Linked DNA regions of Homo sapiens: region 1 is linked to region 2. The links are contacts of gene promoters, found by promoter capture Hi-C in human tissues and cell types (Jung and others, 2019). All regions are on one chromosome and are shown on one strand. The core of a region is centred on a gene start or on the middle of the fragment in contact, and the rest is flanking DNA. Distances in the headings are between cores, read along the strand shown.

The links. Contacts are between HindIII fragments. The study calls those that stand out against the background at their distance.
Region 1: a contact is called between the fragment with the promoter of ASB1 here and the fragment with the promoter of HDAC4 in region 2, in 1 of the 25 tissues and cell types used here (adrenal gland).

The regions. Positions count from the first base shown.
Region 1 is chr2:238,422,931-238,428,272 of GRCh38, forward strand. ASB1 (ankyrin repeat and SOCS box containing 1) reads left to right here and starts at 3,997. Exons shown (of 5, transcript NM_001040445.3): 1 at 3,997-4,189. The coding sequence starts at 4,141. It overlaps LOC124908002 (a long non-coding RNA gene), which reads right to left and starts at 3,964. Exons shown (of 2, transcript XR_007088163.1): 1 at 1-3,964. RefSeq lists enhancers at 2,578-3,113, 4,626-4,745 and silencers at 3,446-3,835, 3,856-4,375. The HindIII fragment of the contact is 10,702 bases long and covers 1-5,342 here.
Region 2 is chr2:239,398,185-239,403,637 of GRCh38, forward strand. HDAC4 (histone deacetylase 4) reads right to left here and starts at 2,836. Exons shown (of 27, transcript NM_001378414.1): 1 at 2,794-2,836. HDAC4-AS1 (HDAC4 antisense RNA 1) reads left to right here and starts at 3,252. Exons shown (of 2, transcript NR_135575.1): 1 at 3,252-3,352; 2 at 3,891-4,173. RefSeq lists silencers at 2,485-2,654, 2,665-3,104, 3,125-3,244, 3,515-3,784 and an enhancer at 3,915-4,044. The HindIII fragment of the contact is 13,359 bases long and covers 1-5,453 here.

The DNA.
Region 1 (5,342 bases), core at 2,747-5,246, 970 kb before region 2:
AACTGGCAGCTCTGTGTTCTGAGGCCCACTCAGTGCTGGGCAAGCTGGGCTGTTGGTCCCGCTGTGGCCGAAGAGTCTCTAAAAACCTCCTGTCTCTGCTGCCAGTCCCTGCTCTGGGACTGAGATTTCCTCACCTCTGACTCCTCCCGCTGTGGCAGTGACCAGCACATGGTAGTTGCCTTCCACAGGTGCTGCCTGGAGAGACGCAGGCCCTGGTAGAGGATGCAGGGGCTCACTGAGCGCTGTGGCCTCCTGACACTAGTGGAGTTCTCGGTCACACCAAGGGAGGCAGCACAGCACCTGTGAGGGGGGCTGAAAGAGGGCACCCCCTTGGCAGGACTCCCAGGGCCCACACTGTCCTCTGCAGTCCCCACAGCTGGGCTTCCCGGTCCTCCCTGGGACCTCCACTGCCAGGCTAAACCACATCCAGGCAGAGGCCGACCTGGCTGGAAGAGGGAGGCTTCGAGGGCTGCAAGGAACATCACGGCCTGGGCCCTGCCCAGCCCCACCAGCCCCAAGCTGAGGGCCTGCTGGGACACTGCGTCTACCCCTGAGCCCTGCTCTGTTCCAAGCTGGGCAGAGAAGGTGGGCTCAGTTTAGGACAGGGTGGGGTGGGGTGGGAGGCTGGAGGTGGGCGTGGCTCCACTCAGCAAAGCCATGCCATAGCGTTAGCAGCCATGGCACCGATGCCCACTGTGTCCTGAGGCTCTCTCTGCCCCAGGAAGCCTGTGGCACATTCTATGGGATTTTGTGTCTTTACAAAGCCTGCAAAGTGGGTATTATCAGCCCGATTTGACAGGGAGGCAGCTGGTGCTCAGAGGAGTCACCCTGTCCTGGTGACTCAGCTGGAAGGATGTGGATCTGCCTCCCTAGCTTGGGGCAGACACCCTGACTCTCTGCAGGTGGGCTCCAAGGCCTGAGACAGGGTCTGCGGGGCAGGGGCTGGTAAAGATGTTTCCAGGGCAAAGCCTGGAGGGTCAGCGGGCTGCCCTCATCTCGTGGCCTCACCTGGTAAACCTTCAGATCCCCTGCTTCCTTCAAAGCAGGAGATCCTTCAAAGGGGAAGAGAGGGCTGGGCCTCCTGGGAGGAGACACCCCAAACACAGGCCCACAGGGCCTAGGATCAGGAGAGATTCCCATTTCTGGTCCCTGCCTGGGTGACATCTGCTGCCCAATTCCCGGAGACAGCTGTGGGGGTTAAGCGACAGCAGCACCAGCACACCCAGGCCCAGCAGGATCCTCACCAGCCTGCAGCTGTGGAGCTCATGTTTCCAGCCCCCCATATACCTGCCATGCTTCCAGAGGGGCCCCCAGTTCCCTGCAACAGGAAGGATGAGGGATGGGGGCCCCTTCTCAGACCTCCTGAACCAGAAAGTCCATTGTTGGACATTTTTGTTATAAAATGATGGTAATGAGCACTACTGTAGCTGAATCTCCCCCACATCTGATTATTTCCCTAGAATGAATGCCTGGAAGAGGCATTTCTGATCAAGGATTATTCATTCTTATGCTTTAGCTAGACTGCCAAATTTTCCACCACAAAGACTGGGCTAGGCTCCACAGAGGGGTCACTGGGGACACTTTGGGGGAGGCCTGAGCCTCCAGGAGGCAACAGGAAGCGACGGGTGATTTTAGGGGTGGGAAAACGGGAGGGAGCCACTGGGACCTGGAGGGGCAAGACAGCCCACTGCACTGGTCCTGTTGCTGCTGTGCTGGGCTGGGATGGCACTGGTAGGCACTGGTAAATCCCTGTTGCTTGTAGGTGATGGGACCCAAGTTGCTTCATCTCTAGCGGTCACTGAGTGTCCCTGTGTTGGTGGGTCTTTTGGGCTCAGAGGACCTGGAAGAAGAGGGACTCTGGAGAGGTGAGGTCAGAGGGGGAGACAGGCTGTAGGGCTGGACAGTCTGGATGTGATCCCAACTCAGCCACCTGTGGGCTATGTGGTTTTGGGCATAGCACCAGGCCCCCAGATCTCAGGGTCCTGAGAAATGGGGGTGATGGTATTGGCAGAGTGGCCAGCAATTGAGTGTCCTTCCCCCTCCAGCACTGCTGGCTCTGTGGACACTGCCCTGCACCATGTGGGCATTTAGGAGGCACGGAGGTGGGCATGTGAGGCCACCTCCCCGCTACAGACCACGTGCGGCCTCAGGTTCTTCTAAGAGGCAGGATCCCAAGGGCAACACGTGGCAGGGAAGGTGGAGGTGCAGGTGCAGGAGGGCCACTCTGCTCAGGGACTCAATACCTTGATGCAAAGGCTACCGACACGCAGAACGCTCACTGTGAGCCCACCGGGACCAGGCAGGCAGAGCAGCGGAGGCCCCCGGAGACGTGGCTCTCACCAGGCTGCACTTTAGAATCACCTGGGTGCTCTGAACCACCCAACACCCAACCCGCACCCCTGACTGACTGCACCGGAACCTCTTTTAAAAAATTCTTTAAAACAATTGTGGTAAAATATATAGAACATAAAACTTAACCTGCTTTAAATGCGCAGTTCAGTACTGTTAATGCACAATTCACATTGCTGTGTGACCCGTCTCCAAAACTTTTTCATCTTCCTCAACTGAAGCTCTGTCCCCATGAAAAACTAACTCCTCATTCCCCACTCCCCCAGCCCTTGGCAACCCCCATTCCGCTCCACCATTTCACTGCTCCAGGGACCTCAAATAATTGGAATCACACAGTACTGTATTTGTCTTTTTGTGGCTGGCTTATCTCACTCAGCATAACGTCTTCAAGGTCATCCGTGTTGTGACGTGTGTCAGGATTCCCTTCCTTTCTAAGGCTGAGTACGAATCCATTGTATGGACGGACAGCATTTCCTTTCTAAGGCTGAGTACGATTCCATTGTATGGATGGACGGCATTTCGTTTATCCATTCATCCATCCAACAACACGTGAGGCGGCTTCAGGCTTCGGAGTTGCTGAAGCTCCGAGTTCGGGATGTGCAGCTGTGGTGGAGCCAGGGGCTGGGCACACCCCTGGCTCCTGGCCTGGCAGCGTCATCATCGGAGTCACCTGTCCCTCATGCCAGTGGTGCTCTCTGCTGTCATCAAGACCAAACACCACTGTAGGAAGTACCCCCACTCCCGCCTCCAACCCCCACAGGGCCTGCCAGGTCTGCCCCCAGTGGGCCCCCTGGTGCATCTGGGCCACCCAGGGCCAGCCTCAGCAGGGGCACTCGCGGGGCTGCGCCTGCGGCTTCCCTTACTCCAGTCTGGAATGTTGTACACACGGATGAGCCAGCAGCTCACGCCCACGACTGCTGGGGTCTCCGGACTCCCTCATCAGCCTCCTGCTGTGCTGTGTACAAATCCTCCTCCTGCATGAGGCCCCGCTGTCTAACTCAGCAGGGGAGAATGGGAGGAGCCAAGGGAATCCGTGCTTTAGGACCAACACCAATACTCATGGTGGGACGACGCTGCGATATTTGAAGTTGGGAGTGTGCAAGAAATGTTACTCGGTTGTTCACGAATGCATTCATTTATTCAATGAACTTCGCGTCAGCCACTGGCTGTCATCAGTTACCGACCTGATTGAGGGCTTCATGGAAGGGATTTGGAGGAGCATTCATCTAAAACCACAGCACGCTGCGACGCTCAGCCCTGCAGTGGGCCCTCACCAGTCCCCGCGCCTCCGAATCCACCCTCCCGGGGCTGCTCGTGGCTAGCGGGGGGCACCTGCGGGGACCAAGCCAGCCCGGCCGAGGCCCGGGTCCCGCCCGCCACGGCCCTCGGGGCCCCGCCCACATCTGGCAGAAGCCACGCCCCGTCCGTGTGGGTGGGGACGGCCCGCCGGACCGAAATTCCCAGACTGCTGCCTCAGGCAACGGGCTTTCCGACTCCTTGGCTTCTTATGTGAGGAAACCACAGCGCGGCCGGCATCCAGAGAGTCGGTTAGCCGCGAAGTTCCCGCCGGACGAAGGGACCAGCCAGCGCCCTGCTAGACAGCGAGGCCGGAAGCGGAGGCGTGGCCCCTGCGCGGCCCCGGAAACCAGTGAGGCCGGCGCGCGCCCGCCGGAAGCCGCGACCCCGACGCGCCCCCCATTGCCCTCGGCGCCGGAAGTGGTCGCGGGTCGTTCTGCTTCCTGCCCGAGGGGCGTGCGCGGGTCAGGGGCGGCCGCGGAGGCGGAAGCATCCATGGCGGAGGGCGGCAGCCCAGACGGGCGGGCAGGGCCGGGCTCCGCAGGTAACGTGCGCGCGGCCACTGGGCCGCGGGGCGTGTGGGGATGGCGAAGGGCTGGCTCCGGCGTCCCTGCCGAGGTCCTGCGTCCTCGTCCCGGGCTGGCCGGGTCCACGGGGCAGCCAGGGAGCCGCACCCTGCAGGCCGGGGGTGGGGTTCAGCGCGGCTCGCAGTGCTGGGCGACCCCACCACGGACGCGCTGCCCTCTCCTCGGCCTCGAGTGCAGTCCCCGCGCTAGATTTTCTTTCCGGTGGAACTTGCTCGTAACTTCCTTCCCGTTAGCCGATACAGATTTGATATGACCCAACCGCAAAAGTAGGACGTGGGCCACCTTCCAGCTCTGAGCGCACGGATCAGGAAAGCCAGCCAGAGGGTAGCCCTAGGGAGGGCAGGCACTTTTTCACCATTCTGCCGCCCACGGCGTGTCCGGTGGTACAGCGGGGGGCAGCCTTCCCACCCACCACAGGCACAGACCAGGGACAACGGGGACGCCGTCTCCAGCGAGCTCGTCAGTGACACAACATGTCCAGGGGCCTTTGGCCCACCAGCAAGGGAGGCAGATAGAAAGGCTCACACCCACCTTCCAAAATAACTGTCCTACTTAGGGTCTCCACCTTGCAGTGTCCCTACCATGCAGATGTGAAGGAAGCGGTCAGGACAGGTTCCCGTTTCCCGGTGGTGTGGTGGGAGTTCCTTCTTGCTGGATTTCTGAGCTTGCCATTCGCGCCAATAGTTTCGTGTGTTCTGGGCTTTCTTTACATGCCTATATTTGTCTTTGGAGGGGTTCCTCTCCTACTTAGTAATAAACCAATACATTTCTTAAACATCTTAAAAGATTGACTTGGAGACTGGTGCAGATAGGCTTTTCCATCCATCCCTCCCTCTGCACCTCCTTCCAATCATTTAACAGACTTGTATTGAAGACCTGCTGTTGGCTAGACCCAGCAGAGGATACTGCAGTGACCAGAAAAAGCCAGACAAAGCATCTACCATCCTGGGCTTTGGTTGGCGTTGACTTTGACTTCAGAGACAGCCAGGACCTTAGGGTCTAGGATGTCATCTCATGTGAGAGTGAGAGACGGAATGATGCGTGTTCCGTGGGAAAAAGAGGACCAACAGCTACTTCCCAGTATAAAGAGAGTTCCTGGGGAATAAACAC
Region 2 (5,453 bases), core at 1,586-4,085:
CCTACATCAGGTATTAATATATTACTCATGGCAGCTTCTGAGCTATGAAAGCCCAGCCGTTTTCAATAGAGAATGGTATGGATGAATTCTACAGGAGTGATGAAATGTTTCTTCTGCTCCGGCAATTAAGACAGCATAAAGTCGCCTTTCCTTTGGTGCCACCCCCAACATTAAAGGATTGGAATTCAAAGCCATTCATGCTGCATTGAAACCTCACAATGAAGCTGGAGAATGGAAGTCGATTACTGGGCATAAATATGCAGTAGTTAAAAGGAAAGAGTTATAACAAAATTAAACTGCAGCAACCCCACAATGTGTGGAAACTTCCAGCACTAGAGTCCTCCTGGTAAACATCCATAGGGCATTCTTCTCAACGAGGTCTCTGGCCACAGAGTCCAGATGGGCTGCCTGAGCCGCACGTGGCCAGCGTGCCAGGTTGTCCTGTCCATCTTGCTACAGCAACAGCCCCCAAGGCCTCCGAGAATATGGCATTTGGGGATTTTTATTTTGCATGGCTAGGAAGCTGCTGAACACAGAACATTCTCTCTGGTGCAGGGCTCCGAGGCCACATCTGTCCTTCGTCCCTAGGCCTTCCAGGCCCATATGCAGTCCAGTCATCTTCCCTCCACCCCGTCCCCTTAGCCCAGGGCTCCCCCGGGGGCATGCCTGCTGCCAGCTCCCCTTGCAGGAGAAAGAACCCTAAAGAGGGCAGCGTTACATCTGCCTGCTGAGTACAGCCGGCTTCTTTTCTAATTGATTACTGCTCTCTTTAGGATGGGATTTGATCTCTAAAATAAAAGCCCAGAACACAGAAAGCTATAGAAGTCTTACAATGTGTTGGGGTGTGTGTTTTTAAGGCATGAAAATACTTCCCTCCCACACAAATGTGAGTTCTTCTGGGGAAAGATGCCACAGATCCCAGAGAGTAGAATATCTGGGAAAGCCCGATCAGTCTTAAAAATAGGTAATTGAACACAGATTTTAGAATTCACAAGAGCTACCTGAAAAAAAATTAAATTTCACATATTTTTGATATCCAAAACTCCATTCTGATGAAACTTCTAACTCGGTGGCATTTTGCATTTCCAATTATAATAGAGTAATTGTGTTGCCATAGTTACTGCAAAATTCTGCAATAACTTTTGTTGCTTTGTAACTGCTGTAGTGTATATTTGTGTACAAGCAGCTGAGTTTTCTTAATTCGATCTCCCTCCCTTCCACCCTCCCTCTCCCCAGCCACCACCACCACCTTTCCTGGCTAGGTCCTGAAACCACCACACCAGCCTTCTTTGGACAGTCCCGAAAATAATGCACAGAATTATCAGAAGCAATTAAAACTCCAGGCAACCACGATCATATTACAAAAGAAAAAGTGAAACCAGGTCAAGGTGCAAACCTGCCAGTATCCCCCCAGTCCTGCTGGGCTGGCGCTGGGCCAGGACTGTTTACAGGCTTACTCCCAGGCCTTAACTGCTTCGGTGATTTGTGGGAATAAACAGAAAAGCCTGAACAGAGAAAAACGGGGCGGCAAAGTGACTGCACAGGCCCTTTCCTCCCTCACGGAGAGCAAGCAGAACTGCTCTCAGCAAGCAATTAGGTAGGTCTCTACAGTCATGCAATTAGGATTTAGTGAAGAAAGTCATTAGTTTTAAAATAACTTAAGTTTAATTTCTGCAACGCTTTATTTGAAAACTGTGTCACAGCAGGTCAATTTACAACATGCAATAAAGAAAACACTCATATCAGCTGCCTCAAGTTATTACAAATTTTTGATGTGCATTAAATGAGTACACTGGGTTCCACCCCCGGCCTTTCCAACTGATACGCACGGTCTCCTCCTATAACAGTGTCAAATAATTCAACGCTCAATGTAAATACGAGATAATTTGCTTATGATTCCGTGGTGTGTTTTCGCAACGCCGGCAAACGCGGATCCCACCCCCGAGCGGGACCGGGCCCCGTCTCGGCCTGCTGGCGCCCTGCGGGCTGAGCCGAGCGGGTCCCGGGCAGCCCCCCGCCCTCCCGCGACCCCCCGGGCGCTCGCAGCGGCGACGACAAGCGCGGGGCCGCGGACCCCCGGCAGGGACGTTTTTCTGCAAACTCACAGCATTTGACAAAGTTACATAAACGGCGCCCGGCCGGCCCCGGCGCCCGCCCGCCCCCGCCCTCACTCCCGGCGGCCCGGAGCCCACCTGCTCGGGGGGCGCGGGCCCCGCACCGGGAGACGGCGCCGCTGCCTGCCGTGCCCACCCCCGCGCCCCCGCCCCGGCGGGCGAAGCCGCCTCGCGGCGCGGGTGGAAAGGTCCAGAAGGGGCCGGGCGGCCCTGGGGACCGGCGGGTCCCACGGCGCGCGGCCAGCGCTGGCCCCCGCCTCCCACGGCCGCGCGCGGGGCGGGTGTGGACCGGCGGCGTCCACCTGCCGCGGGCTCCAAGGCCTGCAGGCTGCGCGGGGCGCGGGGCGGGCGGCGGACAATGGCCCGCGGGCGCCGGGCCGGGGCTGCGCTTACCGCGGCGGGCGGCGGCGGCCGGCTCTAGCCCTGCTCCGGCGCTCCGCGCCGCATCTCCTCAGCCTGCGCCGCCACCCGCCGGCGCGCGGGCTCGGGCTCGGGCGGCGACAGCCGGGACGCGGCCACGGCGCCGCCGGGGGCCCAGGCTGGGAGGCTGTTCGGGCGGCGGCGGCGGCGGCGCGGGCGGGTGCGCGGGCTCGGGCTCGGGCTCGGGCGGCGGCGGGGACGGTGCTCCGCGGCGGCGGCCCCACAACCTCCCCTCCTCATTCACAAAAAATTGACCCACGTTGAACCATGATGCTTCTCCCCACTCCAGCGTCGAGCCAGGCGGCGATAGGCCACCCCGCACGCCCGTCAGCCGGCCCGGCCCCGCCCAGCCAGCCGGCGGCTCGCCAACCATTGGCTGCGGCAGCCTTGCGTCACCTCCCCTTGCGGGCCCCGCCCTCCCGCCTGGTTTCTAATGAAGAGCTCGTCAATTACGGCTCGGCCCCGCCTCCCGCCCGCCCGCCCCGGGCGCCTGGCCGGCCTTCCATTGGCCCGCTGAAACCTGCGCACAGCCCGTCTGCTCCCACCCCTCGCCCAGCGGCTGCTCAACCGCGGGGCCGGATGCCCTATGAGCGGCAGAGAGGCTCCACCCCTGCCCGCCTCCCCGCACGCGTCCTGGACCTCATTGGCTGCTGGAGCTGCCAATTCTAGAGGGTGGGGCGTACCAAAAGACGCTCCAGGCGCCAGCCGCTGGGTGCTTCGCGGTTGAGGAGGCGCAGGGACCGGGGGCCAGTAGTGGCCGTAAACACGGGCCCCGGCCGTGTCCGGTCGCACTCGGTAGCCCGCATGGCTGCCTAGCGGTCAGCACCGCATGTCTGCGAGCCTAATTCGCGCTTAGAGGGCACACAATGGGGTGCAGGCTAACGCGGGGAGCCGGCCAGGCCTCGCCGCGGCGTCCATCTTGGATACTGGCAGTGGGTCACGTGGTGCTGCGTGCGCACGGAGGCGCAGGGCGGCCCGGTCACTGAGTGCGCAGGCGCCGTGGGCCTCGCCCTGCCCCGCGGCGGGAACGCGGCCGTGAGGGTGTGGGGTGTAGGTCCGCCAGGCCTGCAACGGCTGCCGAGGGTCGTGGGATGCGCTCGCCGCGTCCCTGCTCAGGCGGAGGGAGCCCGGCCCGCCGCCAGGGTCTCGAGTCCGGGTCCAGGCAGGCGTGGAGGTGGCGGGAACGGCGCACCGCCCGGGTGGGCGTTGTTTTAAGGCCGCAGGGCTTGGGAGGCTTGTGTTGAGTTACAGGTCGGCCCGTAGATCCCCGGAAGCGCCTTTGGTTGCCAGCAGGTGTCGGCGAGGGTCTTCAGTGGCCACCCTCCTGGTGGTGATGTTTCCGTTTCTTTCCAACAGGAGTATGACAACTTTTCAACTTGAGTGCACACACTGTCCCCGGAATCCCGCGTTCCAGGGAGGAAGCGCCTTTGACAGCGCGCGCCGGTTCGTGGGGCCCGACGGCGTGGGCCTGTGGTTGCGGACCTGGCGGAGATGCGCGTTCGCTTCGATTGTAGGCCATTCCTTTTAGGAGCTGAGAAAGGATCCGTTTTTACAGCATTCTCGACCTGTGATTCTTGGTGGGGGAAACTAGTTATGTGGATAAAAATACAGTTAGCAAAATAAAAATGCCAATTTTACATTTCCTTAAATATCTCATTAATAATTAGAAAACTTTGGTCATTGCAAGAAATGCTTAGGCTAAACTTAGAAGGAAAGGAATGGTGAATTAGAGAACTTTAAAACAAGATACAGCTGAAGAAAAGGAGAGCAATTACGGGGTTTTGGAGACTTGGCTGCTGATGGAAACGGTGCACTATCTAATTTTCATGTAGAATGAAACAGGGTCTGTAGCTAGCTAACATCTAGATAAGATTCAGTATCATTTGACAGGATTCTCAAAAACATACAATCACGAGAAAATATTAAAACCTGCCTGTAAGTCTACCAAAGTTAGTTTTTCACGTACAAAGAGAAGTGCCTGCGCAAAAAGTCACGTGAAACGAGCTCTGGGATCTAATGCTTGCAGAGGTAATTTTTAAAAAGTAGATTTCCATTAGAAGGAATGGGTAGCCCCATTGCTGCGTGCCATTTAGTCCTCACAGGAGTCCTGAGAGGCACTCCAGCAGAGTGAGGCACCACGCAGACGTTGGGTGGATGGTGCAAGAACCTCACTCGCCATGTCTGGAAAAGAGAAACTTGGCCTGGGTGGCTGTGTCTGCCATTATGTGTCAGAGGGGCTGTCTGAAGGAGACCGGTGCACAGCCAGTGCAGAGCAATTCAGTACGATAGTGTGCAGTGAAAGCAAACACGCTATCCTGTGAGCTGTGTATAAGGAGAAAGGTGGGGTGACAACCCCAATGCCTGGGAGCATTCGCGCTTGGGACTTCACATACAGGTATTTGACAGAGTCAAATGAATCACACTCAAAGGAATCTCCGTGTTCTCACAGTTGAAAGAAACCAGCATCAAAGACTCAAATTTTAAAATCTAGGGTTGGTGGATCCAATAAATTGGTAGAACTCCTAGACTGGCTACGATCGGCAAGCTGGCCAATTATAAAATATACAAATAACAGTAACTTTCAGATAACTGACAACATTCAATCGGTAATTAAATAATTGTTGCATATTCAGTATGTGGTGAGCTTTGTGCTAAGCACTTACATATGTGTTAGAAAATATGAAACATTCTCAATTAGCAAAAACATTTTAAGTACCTAAATGTAACAGTAAGTTCCAACAGAACTTCCTGGGAATTGTGAAAATCGTTAAATAGTTCATCTGGAAGAATAAAGATTTGAGAGCAGTCAAAAAGAAGAGTAATGAAGGAGAAACTGTGCTTCCAGAAAATAAAAACATGTTATCTGGGCTCCGAAATGAAAACAACGTGATATTGGCCCAGATCAATGCAAAATAATAG